Linked DNA regions of Homo sapiens: all the other regions are linked to region 5. Evidence: promoter capture Hi-C in 16 types of primary human blood cells and fetal thymus (Javierre and others, 2016). All regions are on one chromosome and are shown on one strand. The core of a region is centred on a gene start or on the middle of the fragment in contact, and the rest is flanking DNA. Distances in the headings are between cores, read along the strand shown. Region 1 overlaps BRD1 (bromodomain containing 1). Region 2 holds the start of MIOX (myo-inositol oxygenase). Region 3 holds the start of SYCE3 (synaptonemal complex central element protein 3). Region 4 holds the start of LMF2 (lipase maturation factor 2). Region 5 holds the start of TRABD (TraB domain containing). Region 6 holds the start of ALG12 (ALG12 alpha-1,6-mannosyltransferase).

What was found. The method cuts DNA at HindIII sites, captures the fragments that hold promoters and counts their contacts. A CHiCAGO score of 5 or more calls a contact.
Region 1: a contact is called between a fragment that was not itself captured here and the fragment with the promoter of TRABD in region 5, in 1 of 17 cell types (erythroblasts). The highest score is 5.0, in erythroblasts.
Region 2: a contact is called between the fragment with the promoter of MIOX here and the fragment with the promoter of TRABD in region 5, in 1 of 17 cell types (M0 macrophages). The highest score is 5.7, in M0 macrophages.
Region 3: the fragment with the promoter of SYCE3 here is called in contact with the fragment with the promoter of TRABD in region 5 in 5 of 17 cell types (monocytes, total CD4 T cells, neutrophils and 2 more); the score reaches 8.2 in monocytes.
Region 4: a contact is called between the fragment with the promoter of LMF2 here and the fragment with the promoter of TRABD in region 5, in 10 of 17 cell types (fetal thymus, erythroblasts, total CD4 T cells and 7 more). The highest score is 8.9, in fetal thymus.
Region 6: the fragment with the promoter of ALG12 here is called in contact with the fragment with the promoter of TRABD in region 5 in 3 of 17 cell types (endothelial precursors, erythroblasts and neutrophils); the score reaches 6.9 in endothelial precursors.

Annotation. Positions count from the first base shown.
Region 1 is chr22:49,778,133-49,781,729 of GRCh38, forward strand. The region is part of intron 8 of BRD1 (bromodomain containing 1); the gene reads right to left. Among named protein-coding and RNA genes, the nearest start is that of BRD1, 48 kb to the right of the region's middle. The HindIII fragment of the contact is 4,505 bases long and covers 1-3,532 here.
Region 2 is chr22:50,485,608-50,488,829 of GRCh38, forward strand. MIOX (myo-inositol oxygenase) reads left to right here and starts at 1,252. Exons shown (of 10, transcript NM_017584.6): 1 at 1,252-1,305; 2 at 1,778-1,858; 3 at 2,055-2,135; 4 at 2,279-2,441; 5 at 2,668-2,735. The coding sequence starts at 1,291. It overlaps ADM2 (adrenomedullin 2), which reads left to right. Exons shown (of 3, transcript NM_001253845.2): 3 at 1-830. The HindIII fragment of the contact is 4,673 bases long and covers 811-3,222 here.
Region 3 is chr22:50,560,851-50,564,478 of GRCh38, forward strand. It overlaps SYCE3 (synaptonemal complex central element protein 3), which reads right to left and starts at 2,069. Exons shown (of 3, transcript NM_001123225.3): 1 at 2,008-2,069. It overlaps LOC107985568 (a long non-coding RNA gene), which reads left to right and starts at 2,111. Exons shown (of 2, transcript XR_001755606.3): 1 at 2,111-2,717. RefSeq lists silencers at 492-690, 1,761-2,170. The HindIII fragment of the contact is 5,765 bases long and covers 124-3,628 here.
Region 4 is chr22:50,505,537-50,509,062 of GRCh38, forward strand. LMF2 (lipase maturation factor 2) reads right to left here and starts at 2,166. Exons shown (of 14, transcript NM_033200.3): 1 at 2,046-2,166; 2 at 1,246-1,499; 3 at 1,102-1,130; 4 at 749-966; 5 at 499-677; 6 at 138-279; 7 at 1. The coding sequence starts at 2,139. NCAPH2 (non-SMC condensin II complex subunit H2) reads left to right here and starts at 2,688. Exons shown (of 20, transcript NM_152299.4): 1 at 2,688-2,909. The coding sequence starts at 2,802. RefSeq lists an enhancer at 1,897-1,946 and silencers at 2,167-2,266, 2,937-3,226. The HindIII fragment of the contact is 8,515 bases long and covers 1-3,526 here.
Region 5 is chr22:50,183,550-50,187,241 of GRCh38, forward strand. It overlaps TRABD (TraB domain containing), which reads left to right and starts at 2,364. Exons shown (of 10, transcript NM_001320485.2): 1 at 2,364-2,427. RefSeq lists an enhancer at 76-651 and silencers at 1,537-1,606, 1,797-1,896, 2,167-2,536, 2,803-3,112. The HindIII fragment of the contact is 17,327 bases long and covers 1-3,692 here.
Region 6 is chr22:49,916,016-49,919,772 of GRCh38, forward strand. It overlaps ALG12 (ALG12 alpha-1,6-mannosyltransferase), which reads right to left and starts at 2,423. Exons shown (of 10, transcript NM_024105.4): 1 at 2,248-2,423. It overlaps CRELD2 (CRELD disulfide isomerase 2), which reads left to right and starts at 2,619. Exons shown (of 10, transcript NM_024324.5): 1 at 2,619-2,883; 2 at 3,215-3,297; 3 at 3,715-3,757. The coding sequence starts at 2,755. RefSeq lists silencers at 2,013-2,212, 2,323-2,822. The HindIII fragment of the contact is 6,188 bases long and covers 1-3,757 here.

The DNA.
Region 1 (3,597 bases), core at 30-2,529, 410 kb before region 5:
CCTGCCATGGGGGCAGATGTGCAACCTGTGAGTGCAAACACGGGGGCGGCCTGTCCACGTGGGCACCGGCCGCGTTTGAACGGAAACTTCACCAGGCCGAAGGGGCCACCAAAGACACAAAAACATGTTCACAGGAGCAGAGCTCCAGGGAATAGGAAATCAGGTTTTAAAAAGAAAAAACCTTGGTTCAAAAGACAAGTGTTAACATGAAGTCAAAAATGCTGACGAAACACTTTAAAACACAAAATCCGGGGCCATCGCCGTGTCTGAGTGTGTCTGGCCTCACTCACCATGAAGCTGCAAGTACTGTACACAGCTAAACAAAACACCACTCACAATTCCATCATCTCAATGTTTAAAAAATAAGGCAAATCTCAGTATTTTCCCCCTAAAAATCCTGACTTTGTCAGTCAACGGGAAACAACACATCTGCCCAAGGCCCCCCGATGAGGTCCCCCATGGGAGTCACAACGGGGGGATGATGTTCCTGCTGGGGGCCCTCTGGGTGTCAGAGCTAAAGGGGTGTGTGATTTTTTTTTTCTTTTTTGAGGCGGAGTCTCACTCTGTCGCCCAGGCTGGAGTGCAGTGGCACGATCTTGGCTCACTGCAAGCTCCACCTCCCGGGTTCACGCCATTCTCCTGCCTCAGCCTCCCGAGTAGCTGGGACTACAGGCGCCCGCCACCATGCCTGGCTAATTTTTTGTATTTTTAGTAGAGACGGAGTTTCACCGTGTTAGCCAGGATGGTCTCAATCTCCTGACCTCGTGATCCGCCTGCCTCGGCCTCCCAAAGTGCTGGGATTACAGGCATGAGCCATGACACCCGGCCATGTGAATTTTTTTATCCAAAAAGAACCCCGTTTTCCTGCCTACCTACCTCATCCTTAAAAAATTTTTAAATCTATTTCCAAAGGAAATTATGTAAATTTGTAAATAGAGCATTTCTGTAGAATTTTTTTGGAAACGATGTCTCACTCTGTCACCAAGGATGGAGTGCAATGGACTCCATGGCTCACTGCAACCTTGACCTCCTGGGCTCAAGTGATCCTCCTGCCTCAGCCTCCTGAGTGGCTGGGAGGCATGTTTTGAAGGGAATGGCTGGACTGCGGGATTTTCCACCCGCTTCGTACGCTTCCCGTCTGTTCTCAATGAGCACGACCGACTTTTCAATACAGGGGCTGAATCAGCCTCCACCCGCTTCATACACTTGCTGTCTGTTCTCAATGAGCATGACTGACTGAAACAGAGGGGCTAAATCAAGCTCAGAAGGGAATGCACAGATTGGGCGGGTGCACTGCTGCCCTCCACAGACTCAAGTCAGACACCGGCTCCGTCTCTCCTGGACTGGAATGTACCGTGACCTCCAAGGGAAGCTCTGTGTTTCTCATTTTAACCTCGGTCATTTTAAGGCAGGAACTGTGGCCAGTTGGGGGTGTCATACTCATTTCTGGCAAGGGAACAAATAAATTTAAAAACCTACAGGAGAAGGCCTTGAGCCACACGCTGAGCTGCCCTGGGGCTCCACATGCTCCCCATACTCATCACAGAGTGGGCTCAGACCCTGCACACTCAGGCCCCGAAGATGTCTCAAGAGGGAATTAAAAGTCCCGTCCTGGCCCCCGAGAACCCCTCAGGAGCAGCGACTCCATCCCTACTCCAACCTGAGTGGGTGAAGGCAAGGGAAGCCCACCCAGCTCGCATCAGCAGTGGACGGACGGAGCCCAGCACCCCTGCCAGCATTCAGCCCACAGGCCCGGAGAGGGGTCTGCCAACGCGTGTGACCCGTCTCCAGAGAGCAGCCACGAGCCTGGCGACCCACACCCCACAGCCCGGCCCCCAGCACACTCCAGACCCCAGGTGCAGGGTGAGCCTGCTCCAGGCTGAACAGACGCAGCCCAGGGCCTGGGTGGGGAGGCTTTTAGTAGTTACTGGTTGGCCGAGCAACGGCCACTTGGGGGAAGACGATGACCAGTGCGGCCTTCACAAGACTGCCCAGAGGTGCCAGCCTGAGGGCCCTAGCACGAGATCACCCGCAGCTGTGCCAGCACCAACACAGCCAAGCCATGCACAGACCACTCAGCAGCCACGACGGCCCCGGCTCCGTGTGCATGGAGTGGGGCCAGGAAGGGGATTAAAACACAAGGCAAGTCCTTAATTCTCAGAAAGAGGAGAATGATAAAATGCCCCTCTTAATTTTCCTAAGCATTCAGTGAGTGCGCGTATGACGCAAGAACACACAGAGGTTCTGCGTGTCACCCATGAAAATGTGACAGCACCCGGGAAGACGTGGGCAGCACAGACAAACCCAGCCCAACCGAGACACCACCCAGCAGGAGGCCTGGCGGGGGTGGGACAGCTGCAAGGCTTGCTAACAGGCGGTCTGGGGGCTGCGGCAGTGCGGGGTCACCCAGGAAGCCAAGAAGCCAGACCAGGACACAGACACATCCCGGGAGGCTCTGCAGCCACCGCCTGGAGTCCCCAGAACCTCGGGGGAGCTGCAAGGTGGCCTGCGCTGCCCGGACCCTCCCAGCCTCCACCTGGACCACCAGAAAATAATCTAAGACAGCTATGGTTCTGAGATCTCTCAATCTCGGCCCTGCCAACTCCCGCCCTGGGAGGCTCTTCCAGCCAGCTGGGAGATGTCCACCATGACCCGCACCTCAGCACCCCTGCAAGGACCTCAGCCCAGAACATTCTGAAGCCCAGGCCAGCCTTGAGGTGGGGCCCAACGTGGGGAACCCAGGGCCTAAGGTCTGCAGAGATGGGTGCCCGGTCCATGAGGCATTTGCAAACAGCAGGCACTGAGGCCGAGCCCAAGCCTCTAAATCATGTAAATAGCAAGGGGCAACTTTCAGCAACTTTTTCAGCACGAGGTTTTTTTTTAACGCTGAAAGTAAAGCTGGTGACTGTGAGAAATACGTTAAAAGAGGCGGCGGCTGCCAGGAAAGAGCCGCTGCCCCATCAACACAGGAGCTGCACGGAATTCCCACAGCGGCCAGGGTCCACCCACCCTCAAGGGCCTTCCCAGTGACCTCCTAGGAGGCCAAAGACTGAACACAGAAATGTCCCTCTCTGCCCCCAAAGGAGATGGCGCAAAGGTGTCCCACAGCCCAGCCAAGCGCAGTCCCCGGAAGCCTGCCCGTCACCAGGTACGTCCACAGCACACCTGAAACTGTCCCGGGAGGTCCCCAAAGGGTCTTCTGAGAGACTGAAGGCCACAGCGGCTGAGACACCGCCCCTCCCCACAGGGAAGAGAAGCCCCAGGGCCCACCTGGGGAGGCGGAGGCCTGCAGGTCTGACTGATGGGCCGTAGTCTCCTCTGGTCTCAGGCTCCCAGCCCCCAACCCATGTGGACACCACAAATCCTCCAGGCCACAGGTGTAAGAACACCAGGCCCTGATCAGTGGCTGCCGAGACACCTGAGGGCACGGAGCCATGGGAACGCAACCCCACAACACGGGATACAAGCCCGCCCCTGCCCGCCCCTGCCGCTGGCACCCAAGCTGCCACCTCGGCTTCTCCGGCTCATGGGAAGCTTGGCCGTATGAAGCAGGTGGGCTGAGCCTGCACCCTGAAGACCAGAGCCCTGAGGGCCCCA
Region 2 (3,222 bases), core at 2-2,501, 300 kb after region 5:
CGTAGAAGGTAGAATAAGTGGGTGGTGGAGTGGCAGGGAGTGCTGAGTGCCACAGGAAGTCAGACAAGGAAGGAGAGTGTGGGGCAGGTGCCGTTTAAATGGGGGGCGCTGGGGTCTCCTCACAGTTGCTTCTCAGCTCAGCTGTGCCAGGATCTTGTTGAGTCAGGTCAGCTGCCCACAGCCCTCTTGCCTGACCCCTGAAGCCCAGAACTCTGATCTTCACAGCCCTAGGTATGGCCCCAGCACCCCACTGCCCTCTCTCCTGCCCCAGCCGACTGCTGTTCCCAGACTTCCCTGGCCACGCTCCAAGACGCCAGCTCTGCCGCGGGCACTTTGTTCTCACGGTGTCCTCCATGCCTGCAGGGCCCATGCATGGGAAGTTGCGTTGGCGGCCTGGGTGTTGGCGGTTCCGTGCCTGCTCCAACTCTCCGTGAGGCCCCTCTCCCAGAGCCTGACACACTCTGTGGCCGAACTCTAGGCAGGTGCCCCTGAGTCCTTTCCTCGACGAGGCCTGACCCCATCCCCATCCTCGCTGGGCCCGCCGACCCCGGTGTTAGCAAGAATCCTCTAAATCAGTTTATGGAGAATTACCCACCCTCGATATCTGATCCCATTCCTCATCTCCCACCCTTGATCTCATCACCCTGCCGGCCTCCTGCAAGATCCTCATTGAGCCACTCCAGTGAGAATCCCCCTACCCTCGAAGGCCGCCCTAACAACTTCCCATCCGCTGACCCCTCCAACGCCATCAATCTCCAGCTGTGGTTGTTGAACTCGGAGGTGAGCTCCTCTCACCACTCTCTTGAATAAAGCTTTTCTCACCATTTTAACAAGTCCTCAGAATCATCTTTTCTTAACAAGCTCCTGCCCCACCCAGAATCACGGGGGGCCTGGGGACAAGTTTTCACCTCCTGAGATCCAGTGGGGCAGCCGGGGAAGGGGTGGTGCAGAGGGGGCGTGTGCTTGAGGGTGGGGTCTTGGGTCTGCCCCTACTTGTGGGACCCCACAGAGGGGTCTAAGGCCAGGGCCCAAGTGGGAGGCTGGGCCCACAGATAACCCTAGGCAGGTCAGCGGCTCGGGACAGGAGTGTGAGGCTGAGTCAGGGCCAGAGGATGTGGGACTGCTGGGGGCTGCTGCTGTGCTGACACATTAACTCCCTGAGGCCGGGAGGAGGGTGGATGGTCATTTATTACTGCGGACACTTATGTAACCTGGGGTGTATATAGGAGCCTGGCTGAGGACACACTCGCCAGCCTGTGCTTTGCCACCTGAGCGCCGCTCCCTCTCAGGATGAAGGTGACGGTGGTGAGTACCCAGACCCCATGCAGAGAGGCTCTGCTGACTGCTCTCCTGGTGGCCAGCCACTCCCGCCCTCTTCTAGCTGGCACTGGCCAGCCCTCCTCCTCCGTCCAGCTGGGCAAGAGCCAGCGGCTGCCGACCCCCAGGCTCCCTGTGGACTCAGTCTCCTCCCAAAGCCACTTCCACCCCTCAAGGGTGGCCATGGGTGCCGCTCAGGCGTGGTGTCCCCTGTACCCCGGAAGCAGACGTCTGCTGACTTTCGCTTTGCAGATGAGGACCTGGGAGTGAGAGCTCCTGGGACTCGCTGAGGCCAGGGCAGGGGCTGGGATGATGGCGTGGGAGAGGCTGTGTCCTCGCGTGTCACCCACCAGCCCTCGAGCAGAGGCAGGCTTGGAGTCTGCAGCCACCCTGGGAATGTCTGTGCTTCCTCGTGGAGCTGACATGATGGTGAAATAGGTTCAATCCTCCACCTACCCAGGGCCCAGACCCTTCCCTGGTCTACCGACCTGATGTGGACCCAGAGGTGGCCAAAGACAAGGCCAGCTTCCGGAACTACACGGTGAGTACCTTGCCGTCCTGCCCCCCTTCTCCCCCATCCACACCCTGGGGAGCAGCACTTGCCCTTCACACAGTTCCAGGGGGTGCCCTGTGGGAACTCCCACCCCCATCACACCCTGTGGGGCTGCCTGGGAGAGGGGAGGCATGGGGCCTCGTGTGCAGGGTGGGGGTGGCGCCACTGACCCTCCGGCCTGCAGTCAGGTCCCCTCCTGGACCGTGTCTTCACCACCTACAAGCTCATGCACACGCACCAGACAGTGGACTTCGTCAGGAGCAAGGTAGGCGTTTCCTGCCGCCCCGTGCAAACGCGGAGGGACCCTTGCCCTCAGCCCCATGAGCCCACCAGGCGCCGAGGGGATGGAGAGGCCTGTGTGGTGGGCCTGCTGACCCTGGGCCACACTGCCTTCTCCTTCCCCGCCAGCATGCCCAGTTTGGGGGCTTCTCCTACAAGAAAATGACAGTCATGGAGGCCGTGGACCTGCTGGATGGGCTGGTGGATGAGTCGGACCCGGACGTAGATTTCCCCAACTCCTTCCATGCCTTCCAGACAGCGGAGGGCATCCGGAAGGCCCACCCAGACAAGGGTGAGCCCTGGCTGTGCTGCAGGGGGGCAGGTGCTGCCTCCAAGGGGCAGAATGCAGCAGCCTGTAGGGTGGGAGGGGACAGTAGTGGGCCCAGGCCTCCTCCAGCAGCCCTGCCTGGGTTGGGGAGCAGGCCCTGGACCCTTCCTGGCTCTCAGCCCCGCAAACCTGCTCATCCTCTGCCTTGGCCCCTGCAGTCCCCAACCTGCCCTGTCCATCCCCCTCCCAGACTGGTTCCACCTCGTCGGGCTCCTGCACGACCTGGGGAAGGTCCTGGCCCTGTTCGGGGAGCCCCAGGTAAGAGTTGGAAGTGGAGGGTGAGGAGGCTGCATGTTGAGGCAAGGTGGGGGTGGAGTGGCCTTGGTGCTTGGCCTGGGATACTACCTGGGGGACAGGCCAGTGCACCCCCCACGGCCCCCCGACGGCTGCCTGTCCCTCTGGTGGCCTCGGTGCTTGGCCTGGGATACTACCTGGGGGACAGGCCAGTGCACCCCCCACGGCCCCCCCCACGGCTGCCTGTCCCTCTGGTGGCCTCGGTGCTTGGCCTGGGATACTACCTGGGGGACAGGCCAGTGCACCCCCCACGGCCTCCCCGCACCACTCCCCCCACGGCCCCCCATGGCCGCCTGTCCCTCCTGTCACTCTGCAGTGGGCGGTCGTCGGCGACACCTTCCCCCACTTCCCCCACGGCCCCCCATGGCTGCCTGTCCCTCCTGTCCCTCCTGTCCCTCCCATCCCTCCCGTCCCTCCTGTCCCTCCCGTCCCTCCCATCCCTCCTGTCCCT
Region 3 (3,628 bases), core at 819-3,318, 380 kb after region 5:
AGAGGTCAAGGTAGGATGGCAAGGGGGGGATTTCAGGCCCGATGGTCTCTAACTCCCTAATAAATGGCAATGAAAAGTTTCTTCTTGTAACAACAGACATTCTTGGTTTGAGGAGAACGATAAAGCTTTATCAAAGCTGCATGCCTCCCTAGGGGCACCTAGGCATGTGACTGAGGCCACATGGCCACAGTGTCCTCAGGACCCTAAGACGGCACAGAGACAGTGGATGGAGTGTAGAAGGCCTGGGAACGTAAACATACATGCAGTGGATGGACAAGGTAAGGACACTGAGAGCACAAGTATGAGAGTGGCTTAAGGGGTGGTTGATGGTTGGGGTGAAGCAGAGGCATAGAAAAGACATGTAGTTTCTATAAGTGGGGCGTTGGGGTGGCCACAGGTAGATTTGGGGATAGAGCATGAGACTGCTAGAAGGATGGAGGCTGGGCCGGAGTGGCACTGGATCTCAGAAGAGGGATGGATCTGAAAAGGAGATCCAGGGAGAGGGTGTGAGAGCTGATGTGGAGGAAGCAGCCACAGGATTAGAATTCACGGCATTTCTTGCCTAATGAGGTTGCCTGGGATGACTGGGAACGGGTGGAGAAAGAGGCCTGAGCCCGCACCAAAGCACAATGGAACGGAGCTTAGGATGGGTGGCGGAAGTGTGGGGCGGGAGGAGCGTGGGGCGGGAGGAGTGTGGGGCGGGAGCGTGGGGCGGGAGTGTAGGGTCTGGCTTGGGTATCACTTTAGGTGTGAAGGACGGGGGTTGAGCGAGTCAGAGCCTAGAGTCTGGTTTGTGGTCTGAGTGTCTTGCCTGGTACGAAGAGTTTCTAACAGAGTCTGGGATCCCTCTGAGAACAAGGAATGTGAGGGGATAAGAGGGATGCTTGGTGCAGAGATGTGCTCTTTTGTACGGGATGAGAGCAGCACAGGAAGGGAATGCACCTGTGATGTGGGAGAGAAGTCTTGGAGTTGGGCTATGAAGAGTCTGGGCGGGTCCTGAAGTGCAGGTGGAGGAAGCCAGAGGTGCGTGTGGGAACTTGGGGTGTGAGGTGGTGTGTGGACTCCGGGGTCCCAGGTGTGGCAGGTGTGAGGGTAAGAGGGGCAGGCTGCACGGAATGAGAAGCCCAGGGTGTGCAGACTTCAGGATCAGGAGTGTATGGTGTGAGGACATGGAGATTAGGTTAAGGGGGTGAAGGACTGAGGTGAGGGATGTAAGGTGGGGAGAGTGGGGTATGGAGTGTGCAGTGAGGGGAGCGGGGGAGGGGTGAGGCGGGGTGAGGCGGGGTGAGGAGGGGTGAGGGGTGAGGCGGGGTGAGGGGTGAGGCGGGGTGAGGGGTGAGGCTGGGTGAGGAGGCGGGTGAACGGTGACGTGAGCGATGAGGGGTGAGGGGCGAGGCGGGTGAGGCGGGGTAAGGAGGGGTGAGGCGGGGTGAGGGGTGAAGGGTGAGGCGGGGTGAGGGGTGAAGGGTGAGGCGGGGTGAGGGGTGAGGGGTGAGGCGGGGTGAGGGGTGAAGGGTGAGGCGGGGTGAGGGGTGAAGGGTGAGGCGGGGTGAGGGGTGAGGCGGGGTGAGGGGTGAGGCGGGGTGAGGGGTGAGGGGTGAGGCGGGGTGAGGAGGGGTGAGGGGTGAGGGGCGAGGCGGGTGAGGCGGGGTGAGGAGGGGTGAGGGGTGAGGCGGGATGAGGGGTGAGGGGTGAGGCGGGATGAGGGGTGAGGGGTGAGGCGGGGTGAGGGGTGAGGCGGGGTGAGGGGTGAGGGGCGAGGCTGGGTGAGGAGGCGGGTGAGCGGTGACGTGAGCGATGAGGGGTGAAGGGTGAGGCGGGGTGAGGGGCGTCGGGGGAGGGGCATGGGGTGTGGAGTGAGTGGAGTCGGGTGAGTGGAGTTGGGTCGAAGTCAAGGGTCTGGCTTGAGGTTGGTGCCACCGCGAACGCTAGGACAGGGTCAGGCGGAGCCCAGCCGTCAGGGCGCGTTGGGAGGGCCGGGGCCCAGGGGGGCGCGGCCTCGCTCACCTCCAGCTTGGCCCGCGCTCCGGTCCTGCTCTGGCGCCCCCAGCGGCCGCTTGAGGAACAAGGCCGCTCCTCGAGAGGGATGCCCCGCCCTTTCCGTTAGCGAACCCTCCCCGGAAGTGACCTCTCGCCCTCATTGGGTGTCCTCGGGAAAAGGGGCGGGGCATTCCGCGCTGCTCCCACAGGTCTGCGGCGTCCGAGTCTGGGACTGGCAGGTGCGGTGCTGGGGACGTCCTGAGGTTGAGGGAGAATCCTGCGGAGATGAAGAGCTTCCCGGCCTGACAGTTTTGCCCCCACCTCCTTCTTGAGCTTAAGGATTTATACGCAGGGCCCCGTTTGCCTGCTGTGTCCCCAGTGTCCAGGACAGCGCCCGGTACCAAAGGTGCTGGTAAACATTTGTCGAATGAGTCGCTGAACGCCCAGCTATTTCCACTGTCACAGCGATCATGTGTGGCGGACATTATGTGGCATGTATCTTACAGAGGAGGCAGCCCGGGCTCAGGGAGACGAGGCAGAGGTGCACGCAGGTCTATGTGGGCTGGAAAGTGCTGGGGCCTCCCGGGCGCTCCTGGTCTCCAGGCAAGAACTGGAAGCAGAGCCACTCAACACCTAGAAGGGCAGTGACAGAAAGCTCTGGCTGGGAGGAGGCTGACCAGAGGCCAGTCTGAGCTCAGCCTTTTTTTTCAGAGGGACGTGGGCACCCTAGAAGGGTGGTAAGTAGGCGAGTGGCAGAGTTAAAAGGTCTCTGGCTGCCGAGGCGGGTGGCGACGGGGCCGGCCGTTGCTGTTGTTTGGCTGAGTGGTGGACAGGGTCAAAGCCATTCCAAGGTCGACTTGACAGGGCTTGGTAATGTGGGAGGGAGGGAGAAAGAAGCAAGGGGCTAATGGCCGGGGTGATACCACTGGCAGAGATGTGGAAGAGTGGGAGAAGCTAGCTTGGAAGGTTAACTTTGATTTTGAACACCTTGTGTTTGAGAATCCTGACAAACCTTAGACCCCCTGAATTTTCTCTCAGGGATTCTGATTCTTAGCAGCCTGATTGCAGAGGAGGAAAAATGGCTGGGGTTGAGCCAGACAGTTCTGGGCAAGGAGTGAGCATTCGCTTGTTTATTGAGGAGGCTGCTGCCTGGGCCACACTCCCTCCGCCAGCTGCCAGGTTCCTGCCCCGGTTGAACCCGGTTTTCTGGCCATCCCTTTCCACCTGTGAGCTGCTCTTCATACTTCCATTTGCTTATACAGCCCAGAGCCGATTTCTGTTACAGCAGCCCAGAGAAACATGAATAGGGAATAATTCTTTTTTTTTTTTTTTGAGACGGAGTCTTGCTCTGTTGCCCAGGCTGGAGTGCAGTGGCACGATCTCGGCTCACTGCAACCTCCGCCTCCCAGGTTCAAGTGATTCTCCTGCCTCAGCCTCCCTAGTAGCTGGGATTACAAGCACATGCCACAACGCCCAGCTAGTTTTTGTATTTTTAGTAGAGACCGGGTTTCGCTATGTTGGCCAGGCTGGTCTCGAACTCCTGTCCTCAGGTGATCCACCCGCCTCGGACTCCCAAAGTGCTGGGATTACAGGTGTGAGCCACTGTGCTTGGCCCGAATCAGGAATAATTCTGATGGCTAAGGAAGAC
Region 4 (3,526 bases), core at 916-3,415, 320 kb after region 5:
GCTGTGGGGCAGGACAGTCATGGGTCAGCAGAGGGTCCCCAGCCAGGGGGCTGGGGTGCAGCTAGAGTGGGAGTCCTGTGGGGGTGTTGGAGGGGAGAACCCCTGGGAGGGCAGGGGGCTGGACAAGTGACACGCACAGGTGGCCGTCTTCTTGCGGCTGCCGTGGCCAGGCTCAGCAGCCAGGTGCTGGTCGTCCAGCAGCGCAGTGGTAAGCACCAGCGTCATCAGGTTGAAGAAGTTGTAGTTGCCGGTGATGATAATCAGGACCTGCAGCAGCACCTGGGGGCGGCCCGCTCTCAGTGCTCCCGGAGACTGACGCCTGGCCCCGTGGCAGGCACCCACCTCCACCCTGCAGGGTGCATCCCTCTGCTACAAGGCCTTCCCAACAGCGGTTGCCAGCTGTCCCCGGGAGCCACGCTGTCCCCAACAGGGCACGCTGAGCAGCGCTGAAGGCCGAGCCCTGTCTGCCTCTCTCTGACAGCTGCGGCCCTCACCCACCTGCGAGTAGAAAGCAGCCAAGCGCAGGCGTCGAATGGGGGCGAAGAACAGGGGCGGCACAGCGATCTCAATTAGGAAGGTGGCCACCACGCTGAGCTTGTGCAGCCAGACCGGCAGGTGGTGTGCGAACCAGGCGGCGGGCGTGGGCAGGCACTGGGTCTCGTAGTGGTAGGTGAGGGCTGCAGGCGAGGGCAGGAGTCAGGGCTGGCCGAGCCCCCAGACTACCCCAGGTCCAGACCGGGCCCCTCACCAGTGAGCCCCCACCACGCAGGGCAGCGGCTGGTCAGCTTGACCACGCCTGAGGCGAACATGAGGCGGAACAGCAGCCATCGCACCAGCCAGAAGGGGAGGTCTTCGTGGGGCAGGGCCCCTGCCTGCCTGCCCTGGGGGGCCTCCTTGCGGTGGGAGGCTGGCCTCAGCGGGGCCACCAGCACGGCCAGGAAGCCAGTCTCTAGCAGCAGGGAGTCCCTATGGGGAGAGCAAATAGCACCAAGAGCCCCTCCCCACACAGCTGCTTCCCTCGGAAAGTCCTCCCAGGAAGGGCAGAGCCCTCCCCCACCCCCTACCCAGCCTCCCACAGCCCCAGGCCCAGCCGTCACTCACCACTGGAAATAAAGGAACACCTGGCCCACCTGCGGAGAGAGGGGCTGTCAGGGAGCGGGTGTGTCTGTGGACTCAGGTAAGGTAGAGGCAGGGGTGGGTGGTGGGGGTTGGAGATAGAGTGAGCTGGTCACAGGTCCCACTTGCCTGGCAGGCTGACAGGTAGGCGGCCCAAAGCAGCAAGTAGATGACAGGGTGGCGCAGTGGGCTCAGCAGCAGGGCTCCCAGGGCCACTAGTGCACCCAGCAGGCTCAGCAGCTCCAGGCCCTGGGCCGTGTCCAGCCCCAGTCTCGGCGCTTCCCACAGCAGCGTCGGGGTCTCCCACAGCTGCTGCCAGCGCCCCTTGCCCTGAGGCCGCAGCGTCCTCCTTGCAGGTAGGATGCCCTCGGGGCCATACAGGCCTGTGGGAGGGCATGTCATGGCCAGGCCCTGGACAGCCCTTGCAGACTAGACTACCTCTGAGTCAGGGCCTGCAGATCCCCCAGCCTAGGTCAGAGCATGCGGATACCTCCATCCCTAGGTCAGAGTCTGCAGTCCCTCCAGAGCCCGTCCCCCAGGTCGGGACCTGTCAAAACCCCGTCCCAGGGCTAGAGGCCTGCTCAACTACCTGAGTCAGGGCCTCCCACCCAGCAGAGCCCACTGCCCTCTTCCAGGTCTCAGCCCGATCTCCTACCTGTCCCACCAGGTCTGGGAGGAAGCCTCTCTCCCACCTCTCTCAGAGTTCTGTCCCCCACCCCAGGTCAGAGTCCAGAGCCTTACGGGAAATGGATCACCGCACACCTTCCTACCCCCACAGCGGCCTGCAGGACACGAACCGCCGCCCCCTACCCCACGCCAAGGCCTGGCCCTCACTCCCAACCCCGGACTGCGTGAGTGCCGGGCACAGAGAAAAGAGGACATAGGGTCCCGCGCCGAGGCTGGGGGTGTCCCACCCTGGGTGCCTTCACCTGGGATTTGCGTGTAGAGGGAAGCGAAAGCAAACATGAAGACGGCCGCCACGCCCTGGAGGAAGAGCTGCCGCGGGAGCCGGGAGCCCGCCATGTCCGCTACGCGGCCCGCTAGAGCAGGGCCCGCCCTCCGCGTCCGCCCGCCCGCGGCAGCCCCAGGCCCCGCCTCCTCACCGCCCCGCCCGCCCAATCCGTGGCAGCCCCAAGCCCCGCCTCCTCGGCCCGCCCGCCCGCCCGCGGCAGTCCCAGGCCCCGCCTCCTCACCGCCCCGCCCGCCCAACCCGTGGCAGCCCCAAGCCCCGCCTCCTCGGCCCGTCCGCCCGCCCGCGGCTGCCCCAGGCCCCGCCTCCTCACCGCCCCGCCCCCCCAACCCGTGGCAGCCCCCAAGCCCCGCCTCCTCGGCCCGCTCGCCCGCGGCAGCTCCAGGCCCCGCCCCACCCCGCCCCGCCCGACCCACGGCGGCCCCAAAAGCCCTCCCGTCCAAACTGGTGGCAGCCCAAAGCTCCGCCCACCCCCCCCTCCCGGAGGCTTCGACCCCGCCCCGCGACTCTTCCGGTGAGCTCCCGCTGCGCGGCGCCGGGGTTCGCCTCTCTGGCTTTTGCCCACGTTACGTCATAGACATGCGCGCGACGCCGCGCCTACGCATTTTCCTGGGCGGGAACAGCAAAATGGCGCCAGAACTAGTGGCGGGCTGAGGACGCCGTACCCCTCGGAAGGCAGCCCTGCGGTCCCTTTGCCGCCCGTTCCCTCCCGGACATGGAGGACGTGGAGGCGCGCTTCGCCCACCTCTTGCAGCCCATCCGCGACCTCACCAAGAACTGGGAGGTGGACGTGGCGGCCCAGCTGGGCGAGTATCTGGAGGAGGTAAGGGCGGCGGGGGAGTGACGCGGGGTGGGCCGGCGGGTGGGGCTGCGGGGCGGGGGCTCCGGGCCCGGGGCTGTGGGCGCCCCACCGTCTCCACGCCTATGGCTATCTGGCGCTCTGGCCGCGCAGGTCCTCGGGCTCCCTGCTTCTTTTCAAACTCCATCTCTGCCTCCCCAAATCATCCCTTGTTGGATTAGCGTGGACCTGTCATTGCAGGTTTCTACCCGTCAGCGAGCCGTGAATGATTGAGTGGGTGGTGACCAGCCGTTTCTCTAACGTAGTGGAATAGACTAGAAAGCATTATTGCTTTTATTGCAGTTATTGCGAGCATGCTTGTGTGTTTGAGAGGTCTGGATCACGATGTCAGAGGAATTTTTTATCTTGGATTTTCAAACCAATTTCAAGCTATTGCCATGCTCTATCCTGTTAGCGATTAGTGTTTCTTCCATGTTTGACAGCCCTGTCTAGACCTGTGTTAAGCTGTCTGCTCCATATTTGCGCTTCATTTTTACTCCTCAGCCCAGCTCAGTCTGGCGTCCACGACACTTAAATGTTTCTTGTCTTGATCAGCAGTGATCTCCATTCTACCAAATCCAAGGGACATAAGTCAGCATTTG
Region 5 (3,692 bases), core at 1,114-3,613:
AGCCTAGTGCAGCCCTGCAGGGGACCCCAGCCGGATCGGAGGGCAGTTCTGCTTCTCCACTGTCTGCTGCCCACCGGGGGCTGGGATCTCGGACACTCTCCCCTCCCCAACTGGCCACCTTGCCCAGGTGAGTCAGAGGGTCGTTCTGCAGCCCGGGGGCCAGCGTTGGTTTGAAATAGTGCCCCCTCCTGCCCCTCCCCCTCCCTGAGCATAAGCAGGCCTGGCAGGTGGATAGAACCGTCCCTCTCATGGAGAAGGAGGGGCTCCAGGAGGACCTTGCACCCATCCCAGATGGCCAAGACTGAGAACCCAGGCCTCCAGCCCCCAGGCCAGGGATCTTCCCTCCACACCAGCCCAGCACTGAGAAATGGGTGAGGTGGAGCCGGGGCGACTGCCACCCGCTGCCCTCCTGTGAGGATGTGGCCGAGATGGTCGGAAAGGCAGAATGACCACAAAGGCAGCGAACAATGAGAATCAATGGAGAGGATGTGAACCAGAGGCCCTAGGGCCCAAAGTGAGTGTCCTTCACCAAGGAGGACAGAGGCCTCTCTAAGGCCAGGCCTGGCCATTTGGGGACCAGGAAGCTGTAGGAGGGGGCGGGGCCTCTTGTGTAAGAATGCTCAGTGGGCAGCCAGCCCAGCCTGCTGCCGTGTGGACAGGCATTTTCACCCATCCGCCCCACCCCGGGAGGACCACCTGCAGACTCAGGACCAGGGACCTGAGGGGACCCCTGCAGGCCACCCGAGCCGGGGCAGCTCCTCAGAACCTGGGGCTGGGGCCGGGGCCTCCCTTCCTGGAGCCTGGAAGGAAGCAGGCTCCCCAGCACGGAGTCCTGGTGGACGGCCTCAGGCAGACCCAGACCAAGCCTGGGCGCTGCGTTGGACTCCCCCAACCCCAGGCCTGCTGGGTCAGCCTTCCAGGCTCGCTGAAGGTTCCTGCGTGGGGCAGCCCTCACTGAGGTCCTCCCCGTGGCTCCAGAGAGGAGCTAGTCCTAGGGCACTCGAGTAGAGAGGTGCGCCCTCCTCCCTCTTCTAAATGGTTCCCCAGCTGGCCCCACCTGGCCCCTTTCCCCAACTAACTCATCAGTGCCTGGCAGGAAGACACAGCAGCCCTCCCCCGGTGACTGGAGTCCTGGCCCCAGGGCAGGCCCCGCTCCAAGAACCTGATCCTTTGGCTGGGGCAGGGCCGTAGAGGTGGGCGCAGAGCTTCGGGGAGCTGGCTGTGGGGTCCGCGCATGCAGCCCGCAGGCAAACCATTGCCAGGCCCACGCCTGCACTAAGCCCAGCGCCAGCGCCAGGTCAGCCAAGAACCCGGGGTCGTGGAGGAGGAAGGAAGTCGTGGGCCCGGGATGCGCGGCCGGACCATTGCAGGAGAGCGGGGCAGGCGGACGGCGCAGCAGCTTGCGGGCAGCGAGTCGTCTGCATGCGGCGGCGAAGCGCCCGGGCCCCCGTCCGCGCCGGTGCCCGCAGCGCGCAGCAACTTGGCCGCCGGGTCCCGGCCGCCCCGGTAGAGGCTGGGTACAGCGAGGGGGCCGGGCGCCCGGGCAGGACGGGCGCGGCGGGTGGGGCCTGGCCGTCTCCCCCTGCCCTCGGGGCCGAACACGCACAGCGAGAGTCTAGCGTCGGCGTGGCTGCGGCCAGCCGGGTCCCCCTGGAGGCCTCCGGACGATCGGAAGTGACTGAGCGTCCGGGTCCGTGAGGCCGGGGGTCGGCCCGCCCTAAGACTCCCACCTGGTCCCGGTTCTCCGTCCGCTAGGCTGGCCGCGGGGCCCCTGGGGCCCGACCTTCCCGGGGTGCCCCAACCTGCGGCAAGGCCGAGGTCCCGCTGAGGCATGAGTCCCGGGTCGGGGACCGCTCTGGGCCGACCCCCGGAGGACGGACTAGGCCGATCCCCAGAGGGAAGGGGGCCAGGCCGAGGCCATGGCAGCGCGTTCCCTGATCCCGTGTTCTCGGCTCCTCGCGTCCCACTATCGGCTGTCCCTTTCGTGCGGGACTGACGGCTCACAGAACAGTTACATTTCAATATCATTCGACTGAAAACCATCCTGTGGACGCCGTGCGAGCATTGTCCCCATTTCACAGCTTGGGAGCTGCGACCAGAGAACGTGGGCGCGCCTCGCAAGGCCGTGACCGCGGCGGGACTCGAACCCTCCCTCCTGAGTGCGCGCCGATGTTCCTTAGGACCCGGGAGCGCCGGGGGGGGGGGGGGGGGCGGGGGCCCCGCGCGCTACCCCCTGGGAAGTGTAGTCCGAAGTTGCGGGCCGGGGCCAAGCAGGAGGCGCGTGGGACTACACTTCCCGGCATGCCACGCGGCCGCCGGCGCCCTCGGCCCGTCCGCCCCGCCCCGCCCCGCGGCCCCAGCCCGCCCCGTCCGTTGAGGGCCCGCGCCGCATGGAGGCCGGCTGAGGAGCGCCGCTGCCTCGCCTCGGTACGCCGCGCGGCGCGGACGGCGCGTGCGTGAGGACGGGGCCCAGCACCGAGCGGGGGGCGGGCCCGGGTCAGGGCCGCGGGGTGACTGTGGGGGGCGGGGGGAGCGAGCCCGAGTCGGGGGGTGGGGGCCGGGGGCGGGGGGGGTCAGGCCCGGGTCAGGTTTTGGGGCCGGGGTAGCAGGTCGTGGGGGTCAGGCCCGGATCAGGTTCAGGTTTTGGGGCCGGGGGAGCAGGTCGTGGGGGTCAGGCCAGGGTCAGATTCAGGGTTTGGGGCTGGTAGACCAGGGTCGTTGGGGGCCGGGCCCGGGTCAGGTTTGGGGGCCGGGGTGGCAGGTCGTTGGGGGGGCCAGGCCCGGGTCAGGTTTTGGAGCCGGGGGAGCAGGTCGTGGGGGTCAGGCCCGGGTCAGGTTTGGGGCGGGAGCAGGCCCCGCGCGTCCCCTGCCACCGCTGCCGGGAGCGGCGCTGCCGAGGAGCGGAGCCCCCCAGGGCTGGGGCGGGGAGGGTCAGCGGCGGCCTCGCGGGAAGGCGCGGGTCGGACCTCGAGTCCCAGGGTCCTCGCGGGTCGGGAGGGCCCCAGCCACCCCCGCCTGCCGCCTGCGGTGGAGCCGGCCGAGGTGAGAGTGGAGGAAGGCGGCCCAGGCCTGCGGGTCTCTGGGGGTGCTGGGGGAGGCCGAGCGGGAGGCCCCGGACCCCCGTTGTCCCCTCCGGCCCCGCTGAAACCTGGGGCTTCGCTCTTCTGTAGGTGCCTTTGCCCTTCAATTGGAGCAGAGCGGGGTTCCCATATGGGCGAAGTGGACGCCAGATCGTCCCCCGCTGTGCGCAGCCCAAACTTAAAAGGTCTTTTTAACTGAGCTATCATGAAGCTGCCGTGTGTCTTTGTCAAAACTCTTACAAGAAAGATGGAGTGGGAGCTGTCTGGGCACTAGCGTCCCAGAAACAACCAGGAACTTGTGGAGGTGCTAAGCTCCCTGCGGGGACTCCCGCAGCCTCGGTAGCCTCCAGATGGAAGCCTCCTAGCTTTCAGGTCCCTGAAGAGGCCGTGCAGGCCGCCAGGCTCACTGCGCTGTGTGTCTCTGCTCCCCGCTTGCTGCCGCCGCCCTTGCAGTGTGACTGGTGGGGATGCTGGCCAGCCTCGCCGGAGGCCCTGATGCTGTGGGGTCCGAGGAGGGGGCCTGGCAGGGTGGGTGGGTGGCAGGAGCCTGTGGGGCCCCCTGCATGGTGGTCAGTGTGGGGGCTCTGCATTGACTGTGACCAGGTCCTGGGA
Region 6 (3,757 bases), core at 1,173-3,672, 270 kb before region 5:
TTGGGAGGCTGAGGCGGGTGGATCACAAGGTCAAGAGATCGAGACCAGCTTGGCCAACATGGTAAAACCCCGTCTCTACTAAAAATACAAAAAAATTAGCTGGAGTGGTGGCGAGTAGTCCCAGCTACTTGGGAGGCTGAGGCAGGAGAATGGTGTGAACCCAGGAGGTGGAGCTTGCAGTGAGCCGAGATCGCGCCACTGCACTCCTGCCTGGGCGACAGAGCAAGACTCCATCTCAAAAATAAATAAATAAATTAATTAAATTAAATAAAAATATGTTCCAACGGCCGGGCGTGGTGGCTCATGCCTGTAATCCCAGCACTTTGGGAGGCTGAGGTGGGTGGATCACAAGGTCAGGAATTCAAGACCAGCCTAGCCAGCATGGTGAAACCTCATCTCTACTAAAAATACAAAAATTAGCTGGGCATGGTGGTGTGCGCCTGTAATCCCAACTACTTGGAAGGCAGAGGAGGAGAATTGCTTGAACTCGGGAGGCAGAGGTTGCAGCAAGCCAAGATCGCACCACTGTACTCCAGCCTGGACAACAGAGCCAGACTCCGTCTCAAAAAAAAAGAAATAGGAAGCAAGCCGGATGTGTTGGCTCACGCCTGTAATTCCAGCTACTCAGGAGTTCAAGACCAACCTGGGCTACAGAGCCAGACCCCATCTCCACAAAAATAATCCCAGCTACTCAGGAAGCTGACATGGGGGGTACTGCTTGAGGCCCGGAGTTCAAGACCAACTTGGGCTACATCATGAGACCCCATTTCTACAAAAATAAAAAATAAAACGGAACGGGGAGCATCTACGTGCCAAGATGTGGGAGGTGCACACAGCAAGTGCTGCTTGGCAGTCCCCCACAACCCCACTCCACACCTCTCCACCCAGGGGAGTTCCCCAGCAAGGAAGAGTTCAGCTGTGGGGTGAAAACATTACGTGCTGACTCTGACACTCCTGGCGGGCCCCCAGCACCTCCTCGGACCCAACAAGGTGTGCCTTCTGCTGATGACCAGCACAGCTCACTTTCGAGGGCATGAGAAGACCAAGGGTGAGTCTGGATTCTCTGCCAGGAGCACGGGAAGACCAAGTCAACACCAGCAAGCACGAAAACCACGACGAACCCCCCACCAGGCGAGGGTGAACGGACACTGTCCTGCACTAGCCCACTCTGCTGGGCAGCTGGGCAGCAGCTGTGGCTAATCTAAGTGACGGGTGCTTCGAGAGCACCCACAGGTTAAAACGGGCCCAGGCCATGACACTTTAAAATGGTGGTTTACAGAACAATGGCATCTCAGATTAGGGAATGACCTGCAAAGACCCTCTTGTCCCCATCAATCCAGATTTTAAGGCCTCTACCGAAATTGATCAAATCAGGCTAAGCATGGTGGCTCACGCCTGTAACCCTAGCACTTTGGGAGGCTGAGGCAGGCAGATCGCTTGAGGTCAGGACTTCGAGACCAGCCTGGCCAACATGGTGAAACCCCGTCTCTACTAAAAATACAAAAATTAGCCGGACCTGGTGGTGGGTGCCTGTAATCCCAACTTAGGAGGCTGAGGCAGCAGAATCACAGGAACCTGGAAGGCGGAGCTTGCAGTGAGCTGAGATCGCGCCACTGCACTCCAGCCTGGGCGACAAAGTGAGACTCCGTCTCAAAAAAACAGAAAAGAAACTGGTCAAATCAGATGTTACTTTTTTTTTTTTTAAATGTGCAGTGTTATCTGCACTCCTTCCTTCCACAGGCAGGAGTTCTCTGAAATCCAGACGCTGCACGTTTTATTTCCCCTAATTTAAACCAGGGGTTCCTGAACATGAGCGAGTGTTCATCACCTCAAGCGCCTGTAGAAATGCAGATCCCCAGCCCCCAGAGACCCTAAGTGGACCCCAGATCCCCAGCCCCCAGGTGAAAAACCCATCCCCCAGGTGGGAGGTCCGGCCCCAGGTGAGGAGCCCGGCCCCAGGTGAGAGGTCCAGCCCCAGGTGAGAGGTCGGGCCCCCGGATGAGAGGTCCGGCCCCCGGGTGAGAGGTCTGGCCCCCAGGTGACAGGTCCAGCCCCAGGTGAGGAGCCCGGCCCCAAGTGAGGGGTGCAGCCCCAGGTAAGGAGCACGGGGCTGTGACGCGTGGACATGCGCGGTGAGGCCTCAGGAATCCAGCGCCAGCGCCAGCTCGGGTCGCGCCCTCGCCCGCCTCCTCCCTGGTCTCGCCGCGCGCCCGCCTGAAGGCCCCGGTCGCGGCAGCGCGCACTGACCTCCGCAGCTCCCGGCGGCGTCCTTCGAAGCGCGGCTGCCTGGGCCAGCCTCGGCAGGAAGCAGGACGGCGGAAACAGAACAGAGCCCGAATCTAAAGTCCTTGCCCAAATCTAAAGTGGCTACCGCAGCCCCGGCCGCTACGGCCGCAGAGACCCTCTGTGCCCTGAGTAAAGATGGCCGCCGCGGGCTGCGCGCGAGGGGCGGGGAGCGGGAGGCGGGGTCGGACCTGCACGCCCCGCCCCCGGACTCCTGGCGGCCGCTGATCCGGGGCCTTCCCATTGGTCACCTCTCGTGGCGAACTCGGATTGGGCCATATCAGGCCGGGGCGGGTCCCATCAACCAATAGCGGCGCGGGGCTGGCGGGTGGGGCGGGGCCTCGCCGGCGCCGTCAAGTAGCCTGGGGGACAGGCCGGCGCGGCTGGGAGCGGGTGGGCGGCCGGGAGGCCGGAGCAGCACGGCCGCAGGACCTGGAGCTCCGGCTGCGTCTTCCCGCAGCGCTACCCGCCATGCGCCTGCCGCGCCGGGCCGCGCTGGGGCTCCTGCCGCTTCTGCTGCTGCTGCCGCCCGCGCCGGAGGCCGCCAAGAAGCCGACGCCCTGCCACCGGTGCCGGGGGCTGGTGGACAAGTTTAACCAGGTGGGAAGGGGCCGGGCGGGGTCGTCAACCTTGGGCCCGGGGTCCCCCTCACCCTGCATCCGGGGTCGCCCCACCTTGGGCCCAGGGTCGCCCTCACCCTGGATCCGGGGTCCCCCTCACCCTGGATTCGGGATCCCCCTCACCGTCGATCCAGAGTCCCTCCACCGTGGTCCTGGAGTCCCCCTCACCCTTGACCCGGATCCACCCCCACCGTGGAACCAGGGTCGACGCCACCGTGGGCCTGGAGTCCCCTCACCCTCGACCTGGGCTCGCCCCCACCCTGGACCCGGGTCAGGTGGTACCAAGCACTATGGGCACTGTCTCCTCGCAGGGGATGGTGGACACCGCAAAGAAGAACTTTGGCGGCGGGAACACGGCTTGGGAGGAAAAGACGCTGTCCAAGTACGAGTCCAGGTGGGTGCCCTGGAGCACCCCTGTGGGTCTTGGCCTGGCGCTGTCCTGGGAAGTCGTGTCCTGCCTTTGGTGCCTGTGTTAATGACAGGGAGACAGAACAGCCCCCGAGGCACCAGTCACCCGTCCGAGTCACCTCGGCTTCTCCCTGAGGACTAATGGCTGGCCCCTCTCTGGCCTTCCAGCTTCTGCTCTGGTCCCTACCCCCTCAACAGACAGTGGCTTTTCAAAATGTAAACTGGAACACCAGCCCCACTTGTGGGAACCGCTCCTGGCTTCCCCTGACAGTGGGGTCCCCTTATTCTCTGTGCCCGGAGTCCTGGCTCCCCGGCCCCTGCACCCAGGTTGGCGTATTGGTTCGGATTTTTCTTCACTGCCTTGGAGGCGCTGACGGTGGGCCGGTGTGGGCCTGTGTTTCAGCGAGATTCGCCTGCTGGAGATCCTGGAGGGGCTGTGCGAGAGC